Linked DNA regions of Homo sapiens: regions 2 and 3 are each linked to region 1. Evidence: promoter capture Hi-C in human tissues and cell types (Jung and others, 2019). All regions are on one chromosome and are shown on one strand. Each heading gives the region's core, a stretch centred on a gene start or on the middle of the fragment in contact. The rest is flanking DNA. Distances are from core to core; before and after follow the strand shown. Region 1 holds the start of TRIM28 (tripartite motif containing 28). Region 2 holds the start of ZNF324B (zinc finger protein 324B). Region 3 has its middle 13 kb from the start of ZNF132.

What was found. The method cuts DNA at HindIII sites, captures the fragments that hold promoters and counts their contacts. A contact is called where the count stands out against the background at its distance.
Region 2: a contact is called between the fragment with the promoter of ZNF324B here and the fragment with the promoter of TRIM28 in region 1, in 1 of the 25 tissues and cell types used here (dorsolateral prefrontal cortex).
Region 3: a fragment that was not itself captured here is called in contact with the fragment with the promoter of TRIM28 in region 1 in 4 of the 25 tissues and cell types used here (H1 embryonic stem cells, heart left ventricle, ovary and 1 more).

The regions. Positions count from the first base shown.
Region 1 is chr19:58,541,051-58,545,577 of GRCh38, reverse strand. It overlaps TRIM28 (tripartite motif containing 28), which reads right to left and starts at 1,514. Exons shown (of 17, transcript NM_005762.3): 1 at 481-1,514; 2 at 41-153. The coding sequence starts at 820. It also overlaps the pseudogene RN7SL525P. RefSeq lists silencers at 494-783, 804-963, 1,044-1,253 and enhancers at 1,374-1,683, 1,835-2,339. The HindIII fragment of the contact is 31,195 bases long and covers 1-4,527 here.
Region 2 is chr19:58,450,290-58,454,786 of GRCh38, reverse strand. ZNF324B (zinc finger protein 324B) reads right to left here and starts at 3,165. Exons shown (of 4, transcript NM_207395.3): 1 at 3,083-3,165; 2 at 965-1,091; 3 at 443-559. The coding sequence starts at 1,085. RefSeq lists silencers at 2,726-3,155, 3,133-3,459. The HindIII fragment of the contact is 12,073 bases long and covers 1-4,497 here.
Region 3 is chr19:58,425,346-58,429,838 of GRCh38, reverse strand. It overlaps a transcript of ZNF324B not described here. Among named protein-coding and RNA genes, the nearest start is that of ZNF132, 13 kb to the left of the region's middle. The HindIII fragment of the contact is 6,648 bases long and covers 1-4,493 here.

The DNA of each region.
Region 1 (4,527 bases), core at 265-2,764:
TCCCCAGAAACCTCCTTGTGGTTGCTGAGATAGGACGCACCTGGTTCGCATCCTGGGCGTCGGTGGCAGCCTTGCTGCCACTATCACGCATGAAATAATTCTCCACGATGTCTTTGGAGAAGCACTGTTGCTTGCACACGGGACAGTCCACCACTTCGAGAAGCAGGGATGTGGGAGACTGTTACAAGTTCCCACCCAGGTTATGGCCCCCACCATTCCCCTGCTGGGTGGGCCCCCGACCATTATCCCGCAGCGAACCAGCCCCTCCCCTCCCCGAGCCTTCTTTTCTCCAACTTTAGTCAGATGTCCCATCTCAGCGGCCAGCACAAACCCACGTTCGTATGCAGGACCCAGAAAGTATTTCCCGTGCCCTGTCCGGGCCCCCATCCTCTCGCCCAGGTGGCATCCTCATCTCTGCACCCAGTCGGAATCAAAGGCAGAGAGTAGGGGGAGGGGTGGCACCGATCACTTCGTACTTACCGGTGCCGTCGCCCGCCGCCCCGCCGTCCCCCGAGCTGTTGGCGGCGGCGGGGGCCGCGGGCCCTAAGCAGGCACTACAGGCCGAGTGCAAACAGGGCAGCAGGCGGGGCTCCCTCTCGGGTCGCAGGCGCTCTCTGCACACGCCGCAGTGCTCCAGCAGCTCCAGCGCCTCGGCGCCGCCCCCCGCGGGCGACGACGCCGCGGCTGAGGCAGAGGCCGAGGCTGCGGCCGAAGGGGCGGTGGAGCGCTTTTCGCCGCCAGCGGAGCCCTCGCCCGGGCCCGGGCTGCCAGAGGCGGCCGAGGCCGCTGCTGCCGAGGCTGCCGCCGCGGAGGCCGCCATTCACACGCCGCCGGGGGCGCCCAGGGGGGGAGGAGGGGCGCGGGGCCCGCCGCGCAGGCGCAGACGCGCTCGCCGCCAACTGCTGGGCCGCTGCCGCCGCCGCCGCCGCGAGGCCGAGCGCCGCCACGCGCCTCCTGGGCCGCTGCCCGCCGCGCGCGGGACGCTGCTACGGCACGGCCAACTGCTGCCTGCTCGCCTCCCGAAGGCGCCGCCCGCGCTTCTTCCTCAGCCGCCGCCGAAACCCGCACCACGCGCCACAAGCACAAGCACAACCGCTCGCCCGCGCGCCCGCTCGCAGAAAGAGCCGAGGCCGGGGGGCGGGACAGAAATAACTGGCGCCGACGCCGCCGCGCACGCGCATTGGGCGCCTCACGCCCGGGGGCGGGGCCCAGGCCGGTCGGTGCGGGAGAGGCCGCCAGTACGCACGCGCCAACTCCTAGTCCTTCCACCACCGCCAACCCCACGTCGGTGGGGCTCTTGTGGGGGCGGGGCGGGGCCTCTGTGACGTCACTGCCGCAATTGAATCCGCCAGTGGGGTATGCGAACCTTTATAGAGTGTGATTCCCCTCTCAGCTCCACCTCCAGACCACACAGAAGCGGGCCGCTGTGCGCCCAAGCGCATGGGCAATCCGTCCCTCTTCCTCAACCCGCGTCTCTTCGCCGCCGTAGAGTCGTCTCCAGCCTCTGCGTCACTAAGAGTTCGGGATAGGGGGCAGGGCCGATGGAGAAGTAGGCGGGGCCAAGACCGAGTGAAGGGCTGTGTCCAGGGAGAGGGGAGGAGAGTCTCCATCCCAAGAGGGAGGAAGCTCCTGTGTGAGCTCGGGTGCTGACTTTTGGATTTTAACCACGCTATAGTTAAACTTGAGAAACACAGAAACTTGACTGAATCAAATGTAGATCACAGCCGGGCGCCGTGGCTCATACCTGTAATCCCACCACTTTCTTAGGCGAGTCGGGAAGCTCCGTTTAGCCCAGGAGGCCGAGGCAGCAGTGAGGCGGGATTGTGCCACTGCACGCCAGCCTAGACCACAGATGGAGAAAAATGTGGCCGGGCGCGGCGGCTCACGCCTGTAATTCCAGCACTTTGGGAGGTCGAGGCGGTTGGATCTTAAGTCAGGAGTTCGAGAGCAGCCTGGCCAACGTGGTGAAACCCCGTCTCTACTAAAAGTACAAAAAGTAGCCGGGCGTGGTGGCAGGCGCCTGTAATCCCAGCTACTCGGGAGGCTGAGGCAGGAGAATCGCTTGAACCCGGGAGGCGGAGGTTGCAGTGAGCCGAGATCGTGCCATTGCACTACAGCCTGGGAGAAAAGAGTGAAACTCCATCTCAAAAGAGGAGAGAAAGGTTTTTGTGTTTGTTTTGAGACGGAGTTTTGCTCTGTTGCCCAGGCTGGAGTGCAGTGGCACGATCTCGGCTCGCTGCAACCTCCGCCTCCCGGGTTCAAGCGATTCTTCTGCCTCAGCCTCCCGAGTAGCTGGGATTACAGGGGCCTGCCATCACGCCTGGCTAATTTTTGTATTTTTAATAGAGACGGGGTTTCACCACGTTGGCCAGGCTGGTCTCGAACTCCCGACGTCAGATGATAGACCCACTTTGGCCTCCCAAAGTGCTGGAATTACAGGTGTGAGCCACCACGCCGGGCCCCCCAACCCCCCATCAAGAAAAAAAATATATATATATATATACACATATATATAAATCACAAGAGGCTAAAGAGCAATGAGTCTGTGAAATCCCACCCAGCCCCCCAAGGCATCCCCTCCCCATGTTTTCGTCAGCAGCTACCCTGACTTTGATGCTTTTCCAGATGGGGAAACTGAACCTCAACAGTGGGGAATCCCAAGGAGGGAAGGAAGCAGGTCCATGTGGGGAGAATCCTGTCTGAGGTGGAAAGTAGGGTTTGTGTGGGGAAAATCCTGTCTGAGGGAAAGAGGGTGTGTGTGCGGAGGGGAACCCTGTCTGAGGAGGGAAGCAGGGTCTGTGTGGGGAGAATCCTGTCTGAGGAGGGAAGCAGCGTCTGTGTGGGGAGAATCCTGTCTGAGGAGGGAAGCAGGGTGTGTGTGGGGAGAATCCTGTCTGAGGAGGGAAGCAGGGTGTGTGTGGGGAGAATCCTGTCTGAGGAGGGAAGCAGGTTCTGTGTGGGGAGAATCCTGCCTGAGGAGGGAAGCAGGGTCTGAGTGGGGAGAATCCTGTCTGAGGGAAGCAGGGTCTGTGTGGGGAGAATCCTGTCTGAGGAGGAAAGTAGGGTGTGTGTGGGGAAAATCCTGTCTGAGGGAAAGAGGGTCTGTGTGGGGAGGGGAGCCCTGTCTGAGGAGGGAAGCAGGGTCTGTGTGGGGAGAATCCTGTCTGAGGAGGGAAGCAGGGTGTGTGTGGGGAGAATCCTGTCTGAGGAGGGAAGCAGGGTGTATGTGGGGAGAATCCTGTCTGAGGAGGGAAGCAGGGTGTGTGGGGGGAAAATCCTGTCTGAGGGAAAGAGGGTCTGTGTGGGGAGGGGAATCCCTGTCTGAGGAGGGAAGCAGGGTCTGTGTGGGGAGAATCCTGTCTGAGGAGGGAAGCAGGGTGTGTGTGGGGAGAATCCTGTCTGAGGAGGGAAGCAGGGTGTGTGGGGTGAGAATCCTGTCTGAGGAGGGAAGCAGGGTCTGTGTGGGGAGAATCCTGTCTGAGGAGGGAAGCAGGGTCTGTGTGGGGAGAATCCTGTCTGAGGAGGGAAGCAGGGTCTGTGTGGGGAGAATCCTGCCTGAGGAGGGAAGCAGGGTCTGTGTGGGGAGAATCCTGTCTGAGGGAAGCAGGGTCTGTGTGGGGAGAATCCTGTCTGAGGAGGAAAGTAGGGTTTGTGTGGGGAAAATCCTGTCTGAGGGAAAGAGGGTCTGTGTGGGGAGGGGAGCCCTGTCTGAGGAGGGAAGCAGGGTCTGTGTGGGGAGAATCCTGTCTGAGGAGGGAAGCAGGGTGTGTGTGGGGAAAATCCTGTCTGAGGAGGGAAGCAGGGTCTGTGTGGGGAGAATCCTGTCTGAGGGAAGCGGGGTGTGTGTGGGGAGAATCCTGTCTGAGGAGGGAAGCAGGGTGTGTGTGGGGAGAATCCTGTCTGAGGAGGGAAGCAGGGTGTGTGTGGGGAGAATCCTGTCTGAGGAGGGAAGCAGGGTGTGTGTGAGGAGAATCCTGTCTGAGGAGGGAAGCAGGGTCTCTGTGGGGAGAATCCTGTCTGAGGAGGGAAGCAGGGTGTGTGTGGGGAGAATCCTGTCTGAGGAGGGAAGCAGGGTGTGTGTGGAGAGAATCCTGTCTGAGGAGGGAAGCAGGGTGTGTGGGGGGAGAATCCTGTCTGAGGAGGGAAGCAGGGTGTGTGGGGGGAGCCCTGTCTGAGGAGGGAAGCAGGGTGTGTGTGGGGAGAATCCTGTCTGAGGAGGGAAGCAGGGTGTGTGGGGGGAGAATCCTGTCTGAGGAGGGAAGCAGGGTGTGGGGGGAGAATCCTGTCTGAGGAGGGAAGCAGGGTCTGTGTGGGGAGAATCCTGTCTGAGGAGGGAAGCAGGGTGTGTGTGGGGAGAATCCTGTATGAGGAGGGAAGCAGGGTGTGTGGGGGGAGCTTCCTGTCTGAGGAGGGAAGCAGGGTGTGTGGGGGGAGAATCCTGTCTGAGGAGGGAAGCAGGGTGTGTGGGGGGAGAATCCTGTCTGAGGAAGGAAGCAGGGTGTGTGTGGGGAGCATCCTGTCTGAGGA
Region 2 (4,497 bases), core at 1,916-4,415, 92 kb after region 1:
CTCAAGACTGCACTCCTGAATCCTACGTACTCACTGCGTCTCCCCTAGCACCATCAGCCCCACAAAGGCAGGACCATGAGTGTCCTGGTCAAGGCTGTGTCTACAATGCCCACAAGCCCTCAGGAAACATTTGATGAATACAAAGATAAATGATGGGCGAAATAAATACCTATCAATAATGGCTGCTAGTTGTGGAGGGTTCAAGGCCACACAGCCCAGCTGAAGGTAGGCCCTTCTGTGTGAACCCAGCTCCTGTGCCCTTGGAGCTCTCCCTTCAAGGGCACCTACTAAGGCAGCAGCCTCCAGGAGAGGCTGATGATGGAAGAGAAGGGAGTCAGGTAGGAGGCAGGAGAGGAGGATGTGTTTCCAGAGTCAGAAAAGCAGGGACATGGGCTTGGCCACAGGTTGGTCCTTAGTTCACCCCACCTGAGCTCCCACTCACCAGAGTTGAGCCTCCCGTAGGTGTTCCTGGCCAGGGTCATGTCCTTTCCACTGGGAACCCAGGGCTCCTCGCCACGCTCAAGTTGAATGACCACACGAGGTCGGGAGGTAGAGAGTCCTGTGAGGAGGAGCAGGTGAGAGCCCAGCCCCAGGTCAAGACAACCCACCTCCCAACAGAGAGCAGGAGTCAGGGCTTCATGGAAATAGACAGTAATCTGTGCAACTGGGAGAATCTAAAGATAGCACAGGGCAAGGGGCTCATAGGAATAGCTCATGTGTCCCCAGAGCAGCAACTGTGCCCAGAGCACCAAAGCAACGGGACTGAGCCCAGGCATGAGAGAGGCCACAGCTGGACAGGGCGGCAAGGAGTGGCTGACCCAACCAAACTTTGTGTCTACAGGACCAGACCCTTGTTCCACGTGGCCCTGGCCAGATTTGATCCTGCTCATCAACCAGGAGGGAAGTGAAGAGGCAGTCCTGATTGTCACCAAGTGCACTTTTCATGGAGCACCCAGGGCCTTACCAAGTGAGGTCACAAGTGTGAAGTTTTCCAGCATCACGTGGCGGTACAGGGCCCTCTGCGCTGTGTCCAGGAGCCCCCACTCCTCCTGGGAGAAGTACACGGCCACATCCTCGAAGGTCATCAGGTCCTAAAACAGCAGGGAGGTGGAGGTAGGCATGGTCTAAGGTATGGCTGTGAGCCAGGACCAAGCTCCCCATCCCAACAGTCACCTCCCCCAGTGTCCCTCCTTCCTTGGGTTCCACCCCGAGATTATCTTCAGGTGGCACTTCCCTCACCTGTCTGGGACCCCTCCCCTCTGCCCTCCTGGTCCAGGCCCCAGATGGCTTCTTGACTTCCCCACTGGCCACCCCTACACAAGCAGGCTAGAGCAAGCCCTGGCTGGGCCCTTAGCTGCCACACCAAGGGCAGCCCCAAATATCCACTCGTGACTCAGCATGACCATTCATGACCCTCCCCAGATGTGCCCTTCTTGCTTTTGTAATAAGCAAGGGTGTAAGTCCCAGCTGTGGACCCCCCAGGCATGCCCATCACTGAGACCTTCCCCTGCTGCGCTTGCCTGACATTTCCAGGCTGCTCATCCAGCCTGAGGGACTGGATGATCCCCACCAGTCGTCATAGGGGTGCAGCCCCAAGAACCTGTGAACACAGGGGAACTCAATCCCTTCCTCCCTCCACATGGCGCCCCCTCCTCAATTTATTTATTTATTTATTTATTTATTTATTTATTTATTTATTTATTTTTATTTTGGAGACGGAGTCTCACTCCGTCACCCAGGCTGGAGTGCAGTGGGGCAATCTCGGCTCACTGCAAGCTCCGGCTCCCGGGTTCACGCCATTCTCCTGCCTCAGCCTCCCGCCACCACACCTGGCTAATTTTTTTGGATTTTTAGTAGAGACCGGGTTTCACTGTGTGAGCCAGGATGGTCTCGATCTCAGCGCTCCCGCAATTTCTTTCCCACATTGCTGCCACCCTCTCCTATTCAGCCACCTGCCGAACTCCTCCCCTGATAGCCTCAGGCACCCCAGCCGGTTTTCTTTACCCTCAAGCTGTAACTCCGCACGCCTGACTGCTCATCGCCTTCTTCAGTCCAGTTTATAGGCCCTGTCCTCAGCCCAGGACACCAACAACGTCAGGTCCAGTGACATGACCAACCTGGGACATCCCAGACTCTTGATCTTTCCCCTGAAGGAAACCTGCTTTCCTTTCAATTCTCCTTTCTATCTACAGCAGCTCTCTTCTTCCAGGCGCTCAGGCTGAACAACATGGGGTACTTAGTTCTTCAAACAGCCCACACCTGATGCATCCGCAGATCCACCAGAATTCACCTGGTCGCCCACCTCCACTGCTGCCCAGACTGTGGCAGTCGGTTCTTCCCTTCATGCCGACACCCCTGCATGTCTGTTCTCCACGCAACAAACGGTGGAACCGTTTTAAAGTCCCAACTCAGAGGATGTCCTGATTCTGTTCAAAACTTCTATGTCTCCCGACGCCCTCGAGATAAAGCCCACTCCCTCGCCTGCTACTGCAGCCGCACACATCCCCTCTACTCCAGCTCCACATCGAGAGCGCTCAGTCCCAGAAGCATCTGGGCTTCGGCTCCCCTCCCAGGTTTTGCACACGCAGGACTCTCCCCTCGGAGCCTCCTTCGGGACCTCAGCCCCCTGGCTGCCGGAAGTCGGGAGCTCACCAGTGCCCTGGACGCAGGAGTTTGCACTGACCCCCGCAACCCCCCCAGGGCAGGGAGAGGAAAGACGACTAGGCGAGGTCTAGGAAGCGGCCTCACTCCGTGGGGGCGCAGTCTGTGTGAGCAGGGACTCCCCCGCCCCCCCGGCGCGGGCTTGTCAGCGCCACCGCCGCCAGCGGAACCCGCAACTGGGAGGGAAGAAAGGCATGGACCACCCGGGACCGCCATCCCCGCCAGCAGCCTCCCGCGGCTGCCCCGCGCCTCAGCCTGCCCGGCAGTCATGGGCGCAGAATGCCCAATGCGCTGCCTCCTGGGCTTCCGCGGGGCGGGAGAACGCGTGGTTCCCGCCGGGGCCCGACCGCCCCCGGGCCGACCACGTCATACTCGAAGATACCGAGGCTTGGGGGCGCGGCCGGCTGCTCGTGGTCCGTACCTTCCTGGCCGCCCGCCTCGGGCCCCGACCCGCGCGCCACAGCCCAGACCACCGGTGTGGCCTGACGCGAGCAGCCAAGTGACAGTCCCAACGCCGGAAGTCCAGCCCCCAGAGCTCACATTGCCCCAATACGCGCGCAGACGCTTGCGCACAGCCTTCTGGGTTATGTGGTTCCTGCCTGTTTTTCGGCGCGGAGGCGGGGCCATTACCAGTCTCCATGGCAACGGCTAAGCGCCGCCGCGCTGGGCGCCTGGAAATGGAGTAGCGCAGCTGCCGCGGGTTTCCAAGGGCTCCGTGGCACTGGTTGAGTCGCCCGGCAGGTTGTCCCGCGTTGGGGATTCCCAGTTCCTGGCACCCACCTAAGCAGCCCTGGAGACTAAACCCTGCAGGTGTGAAAGCAGAAACTGCGGAGGTTCCAGAAGGCAACACCAGCAGGTAGCAGGGAGGAGAAAACGCACCGGGTAGGGCAGGTGTAGGTGGAGGAGCAGATGCCTGGAGCTCCGGGTTCCCTTCCCAGCTTTGCATCTCACTGACTGTGCATCCTGGGCGAGGGTTTGATCTCTCTGTGTGTCAGTGTCCCGTAAAGGTTTAAGGTCCGTTTTTCAACCTCTACACCAAGAATTCTCAGCCTGTAATGACACTACCCGCTTGTCATTTGTCTTGATTCTGTGATTGTTCTTGGACGCTCGCCCAAAACTTGTTTTCCTTGTAACTTGGACGAGCAGAAGGTAATTCCCCAGCCTTGCTTGTCCTTAGACCATCTAGTTCTTGCTTTGCCCCACACATCACAACATGGATGCTTTGTTCCTTTTTTCTCTGGACCAATCTAAGTGTCTTTGACACATAACAACAAAAGGCAGGGCAGTCTCAATGTAGACTGACCATGTTGTTGGCAGAGAATAAACGATTCTCTCTTTGTTGCTTCCCTGTGAGGGTCTTGTTTTTAGGATCCTTAGACAGTTCTCAGATGTCAAGTACGTTAATTCATTTTGTCTTCCTCTATACCCACCTCCATCTATAAATATCTGTCTACTGTCAGCTATAACTGTCCACAGAATTGATTCTACTTGTAGATCCCTATAGTGTAAGATAGCTCGACAATTTTTGAATGTTTTTATTTAAATTTTTCCTGCTTTGAAAGAATTTAAGAACACTTAAGTACTATTGTGATTTAATCAAATGCTTAGAGGCATTATTAACATTTCAAGCAATTTTTTTTTACTTTTTTTTTTTTTTTTTTGAGACAGGGTCTCACTCTCTTACCCAGGATGGAGTGCAGTGGTGCATACTCGGGTCACTGCAACCTCCGCCTCCCATGCTCAAACAGTCCTCCAACTTCAGCCTCCCAAGTAGCTGGAACTACAGGCAGGAGCCACGATGCCTGGTGTATTAGTCTGTTTTCACGTTGCTGATAA
Region 3 (4,493 bases), core at 1,021-3,520, 120 kb after region 1:
CCTCACTGTGCTAAGGGAAAGCAGACTATACTCCCTTTTCCATTCTCTAGAGAGAATTACATAGGCTTTGAGTACCTTCATTTTCTTTCCCACTGATGGCTTTAGATTTTGGTATGACAATTCTTGCTAAGATCTGAGCTGGTGTCTTCTGGAGCTTTCCAGAAAAGGTTTCTTGGCCGGGCACAGTGGCTCATGCCTATAATCCCAGCACTTTGGGAAGCTGAGGCAGGCAGATCATGAGGTCAGGAGATCGAGACCATCCTGGCTAACATGGTGAAAACCCACCTCTACTAAAAATACAAAAAATTAGCCAGGTGTGGTGGCGGGTGCCTGTAGTCCCAGCTACTTAGGAGGCTGAGGCAGGAGAATGGTGTGAACCTGGGAGGCAGGGTGTGCAGTGAGCCGAGATCGTGCCACTGCACTCCAGCCTGGGCGACAGTGTGAGACTCCATCTAAAATAGAAGAAAAGGTTTCTCTTCATGGACATTGTTTGCATCTACATGTGACACTTAGGAATGATCTGTTTAGTCTCAATCACTCACTCCTGGATCTGCCTGTCTCTCTCTGAGATAACAAAGGCCTTAATGTTTAGCCACCTGCATCAGAGTTGGTGAGGTGGTTTGAAACAATTCATCCTAATATAAAAAGAACAGCTTTTGTAAGGGGGCACTGAGTGTCTCAAACAGCCGCATGGGCAGGAAGAGTGCTCAGTCCAGTTTTGGTTGAATTTGTCTTGTTGCCCTAAGGCCTCCTATGAAAGACTGACAGGCTTGGACTGAATCTTGTGATCTGGACACCAAGGGTCACCTGTGGGCCCAGAGCTAGCTCTGAAGAATGGGGTAGTTTCTTTGAGAACCTCCACAGCAAAAGTTTGGTCCTCTGTTCCCAATGCATGTCCCACTTTACCAGCTACATCCCCCAGTACCTGCCCATGGCTCATGACTCATGAAATATAAAACTCAGTAGGCAGGCATAACTGGTTCAGACCTGCCAGGGCTATGTGGGAACTATCATTGGTACAAAAACTCTAAGTGTGGAGAAGACTGTGGTAGACAAGAGGGGACATGTCTGTTCTAAACGCACATCAGAAACTTCCAATGACTATGGCCAAGTGAGATAAGGGTGTACAGAACTTCTCAGGACATGCAGACCTATGTGTCACTCATAACTGAAATTCAAATAAATATTTTGTGGATTTCCTGTGGACTCCCTGGGCTGTTCATCTCATGGCCATCACTGCACAGGTAGGCACCTCAAGACAGAGAAGACAGAAATCATGGTCTGGAGTGGCTTATGTGAGTAGCCAGGGTTTCTTGAGAATCATATGGCCGTGGCCTTCATAATTCCACTTCTGGTGGCCACCAAGCAGGTCTGTCCCTCTTAAGGGGTGGGGAGACAATATGGTGGAGTCAGTACAGATTTCCCATATCTCCTGGTTTTCCAAGAAGAGCCAAATATTCAGATTTCTATGTGGCATGTGATTTTATAAATGTTGAAAATCATTTCCAAAAACATTTCAATGCAAACTCAGTTCACCAAAACTATAGGTTGGCTTTAGATATTTCCCTGGGTCCTCCTGAGGCCTAGGGGAGAAAAGACCGGAAATCCTCTGACATGAGAATCTTTGGCCTGTGGTGTCCATCCATACTGTATGATGGATCAGAGGCCACTGCAGCTGCCACGTCTCCTGGAAGCCCCTGAGGGGATGGACAATGATAACCACATTGTGAGCAGAAGCCACAACAGTTTTGCCGTCAGCAAAGTTTACAGCAGGGCTTCTCAAATACTCCCCAGCACAGTGAGGTGTCTGGGGGATACCTACCCTACTCAGGCCTTCCTTCCTGAGTGTAATGTCTCCAATATGGAAGATGCTAATGTCTCCAATATGTAAGACACATGTGGGATCAGAATTAAAGGTTAGCTGAGCCATATGGGGCTCAGCCTTCTAAGCAAATAAAGTTAGGGTAGACACGTCATCAGAGCTCAATCCTCTGTGTGAGTGGCCAAGATTAGATCTCATAAGATGGTGCTGGGCATGATTGTGGCATGCCTGTTTCCAGCTACTTGAGGCAGGAGGATCACTGGATCCCAGGAGTTCAAGACTGCAGTGAGCTATGTTTGCACCACTGCACTCCAGCCTGGGCAACATAATGAGACCTTGTCTCTAAAACAGGAAAAAAAAAAGGCTGGGCGCGGTAGCTCACGCATGTAATCCCAGCACTTTGGGAGGCCAATGCGGGCGGATCACCTGAGGTTGGGACTTTGAGACCAGCCTGACCAACATGGAGAAATCCCATCTCTACAAGAAAAGAAAGAAAGAAAGAAAGAAAGAAAAAGAAAGAAAGGAAGGAAGGAAGGAAGGAAGGAAGGAAGGAAGGAAGGAAGGGAAAGGAAAGGAAGGAAGGAAGGAAGGAAGGAAGGAAGGAAGGAAGGAAAGAAAGAAAGAAAGAAAGAAAGAAAGAAAGAAAGAAAGAAAGAAAGAAAGAAAGGAAAGAGAAAGAAAGAAAGAAAGAAAGAAAGAAAGAAAGAAAGAAAGAAAGAAAGAAAAAAGCCAGGCATGGTGGCGCATGCGTGTAATCCCAGCTACTCAGGAGGCAGGAGAATTGCTTGAGCCTGGGAGGCAGAGGTTGCAGTGAGCTGAGATCACGCCATTGCACTCCAGCCTGGGCAACAAGAGTGAAACTCCGTCTCAAAAAAATAATAAAAAATAAAAATAAAAAAGGAAAAAAAAAAGATTCCTAATACATGAGTAGAGTCCTACGTGTTTCTACTGAACCTGCCTTCTGATCTCCGACTGGGTCTCAGTATACAGCAGCCAACCTGTTAGGGGAAGATAGATGTTTGCCAATAATGCCAGAATATTCCAGGCAAAGTCCTGATGGCTGTGACTTTTGAGCTGTCCAGGTTACCAGCTTTTGTGGGATTCAGTGGCTCCACTGCTTTCAGACTATGCTCAAACCAAAAGGCAGTTGCCTTCAGCCCCTTGATGCAGTGTACTGACTACCCTGTTATTGTACACTCTGCTGTATGCAATGGTAGTTCTCTTCTGGAATCTACTGGGCAGTTCCTTGCCCCTGGGCCTTTGCTTGTGCCCTCCCACATCAGGGACACCCTTGAAAGGCTTCTCAACCTCTCCCAATCATACCTCCAGATCAGCTATACCTCTCCTTCATGCTAGTGTCAGCATCTGTTGATTCCCTCATCTCCAACTCCCAAGCTTTGAGTGAACTATCTGGAACATGGGGGCTGTGAAATCTGAAGAGCAGCAGATTAAGGCCAAGGGTGCCAAAACACTCAGTAACCTTCTCTGGCTTGGCTCAACTTGGACTCCTACTGCTAATAAATTGTGCGATCTGGGGCACAGACTCCCAAGCTTCAGCTGTCTCATCTATAAATCCATGAAATCTGTCTCACAGTGTCCACCAGAACTTCTGACAACACAGAAAACTCTCCATCAATATGAAGCCCTTTACACCGACAGTGGGAATCACTACATTCTCCTTAGGCCACACCCACTAACCAGAGCTTCAGCCATTATACACGGATGGCAGACAATGTTGTCCTACCACGCCATCCTCTCACCTTGGACCCCAATTTTGACATTTCCAGACTCGCCTCTTGTGAAACCCAGATCCTCTACCCCCAGCCCCAGCCTTCTTCTGGCACTCAGAGAAGTCAGCCAAGCTTCGATTGTTTGATGGGGAGGCATGGCCTGACAACTAATGACTCAGAGCTACCAGTCTCTGGCCTCTCCAAAATGCCAAGAACTCATCGATCTGCAGACCTTGTAACCCTCAAGGAATCACTATACCCTCAATGGATATGAAAATAGACACCACTGTGATTCAAGAAGGTGATCTAAGAAAGAAGCACAAGTGAAAATTTATAACCAAGAGATTTCAACATGGGAGGGTGGAAATCTAGAGGTAGGGAGAGGTGAGTAAAGCAGTGGAAACATTAGACCCAGTTCACCTGCCTTGAAATCTCAGCTCTCTTTCTTACTAAATCCTACCTACTATGTGACCTTTTTGTTAGGCTGTTTTTGTGTTACTATAAAGAAATATCTCAGGCTGGGCATGGTGGCTCATGCCTGTAATCCCAGCACTTTGGGAGGCCCAGGCAGGCAGATCACCTGAGGTTGGGAGTTTGAGACCAGCCTGGCCAACATGGTGAAACGGCGTTTCTATTAAAAATACAAAAAATTAGCCAGGCGTGGTGGTGGCGGCTGTAATCCCAGTTACTCGGGAGGCTGAGGTAGGAGAGTTGCTTGAACCCGGCAGGCAGAGGTTGCAATGAGCCAAGATCACGGCATTGCACTCCAGCCTGGGCCACAAGAGCAGAATTCTGTCTAAAAAAAAAAAAAAAAGGAAAGAAGGAAGGAAGGAAGAAGGAAGACAGGAAGGAAGGAAGGAAGGAAAAATCTAAGTCTAGATAGTTTATAAGGAAAAGAGGTTCAGTCGGGCGTGATGGCTCACGCCTGTAATCCCAGCACT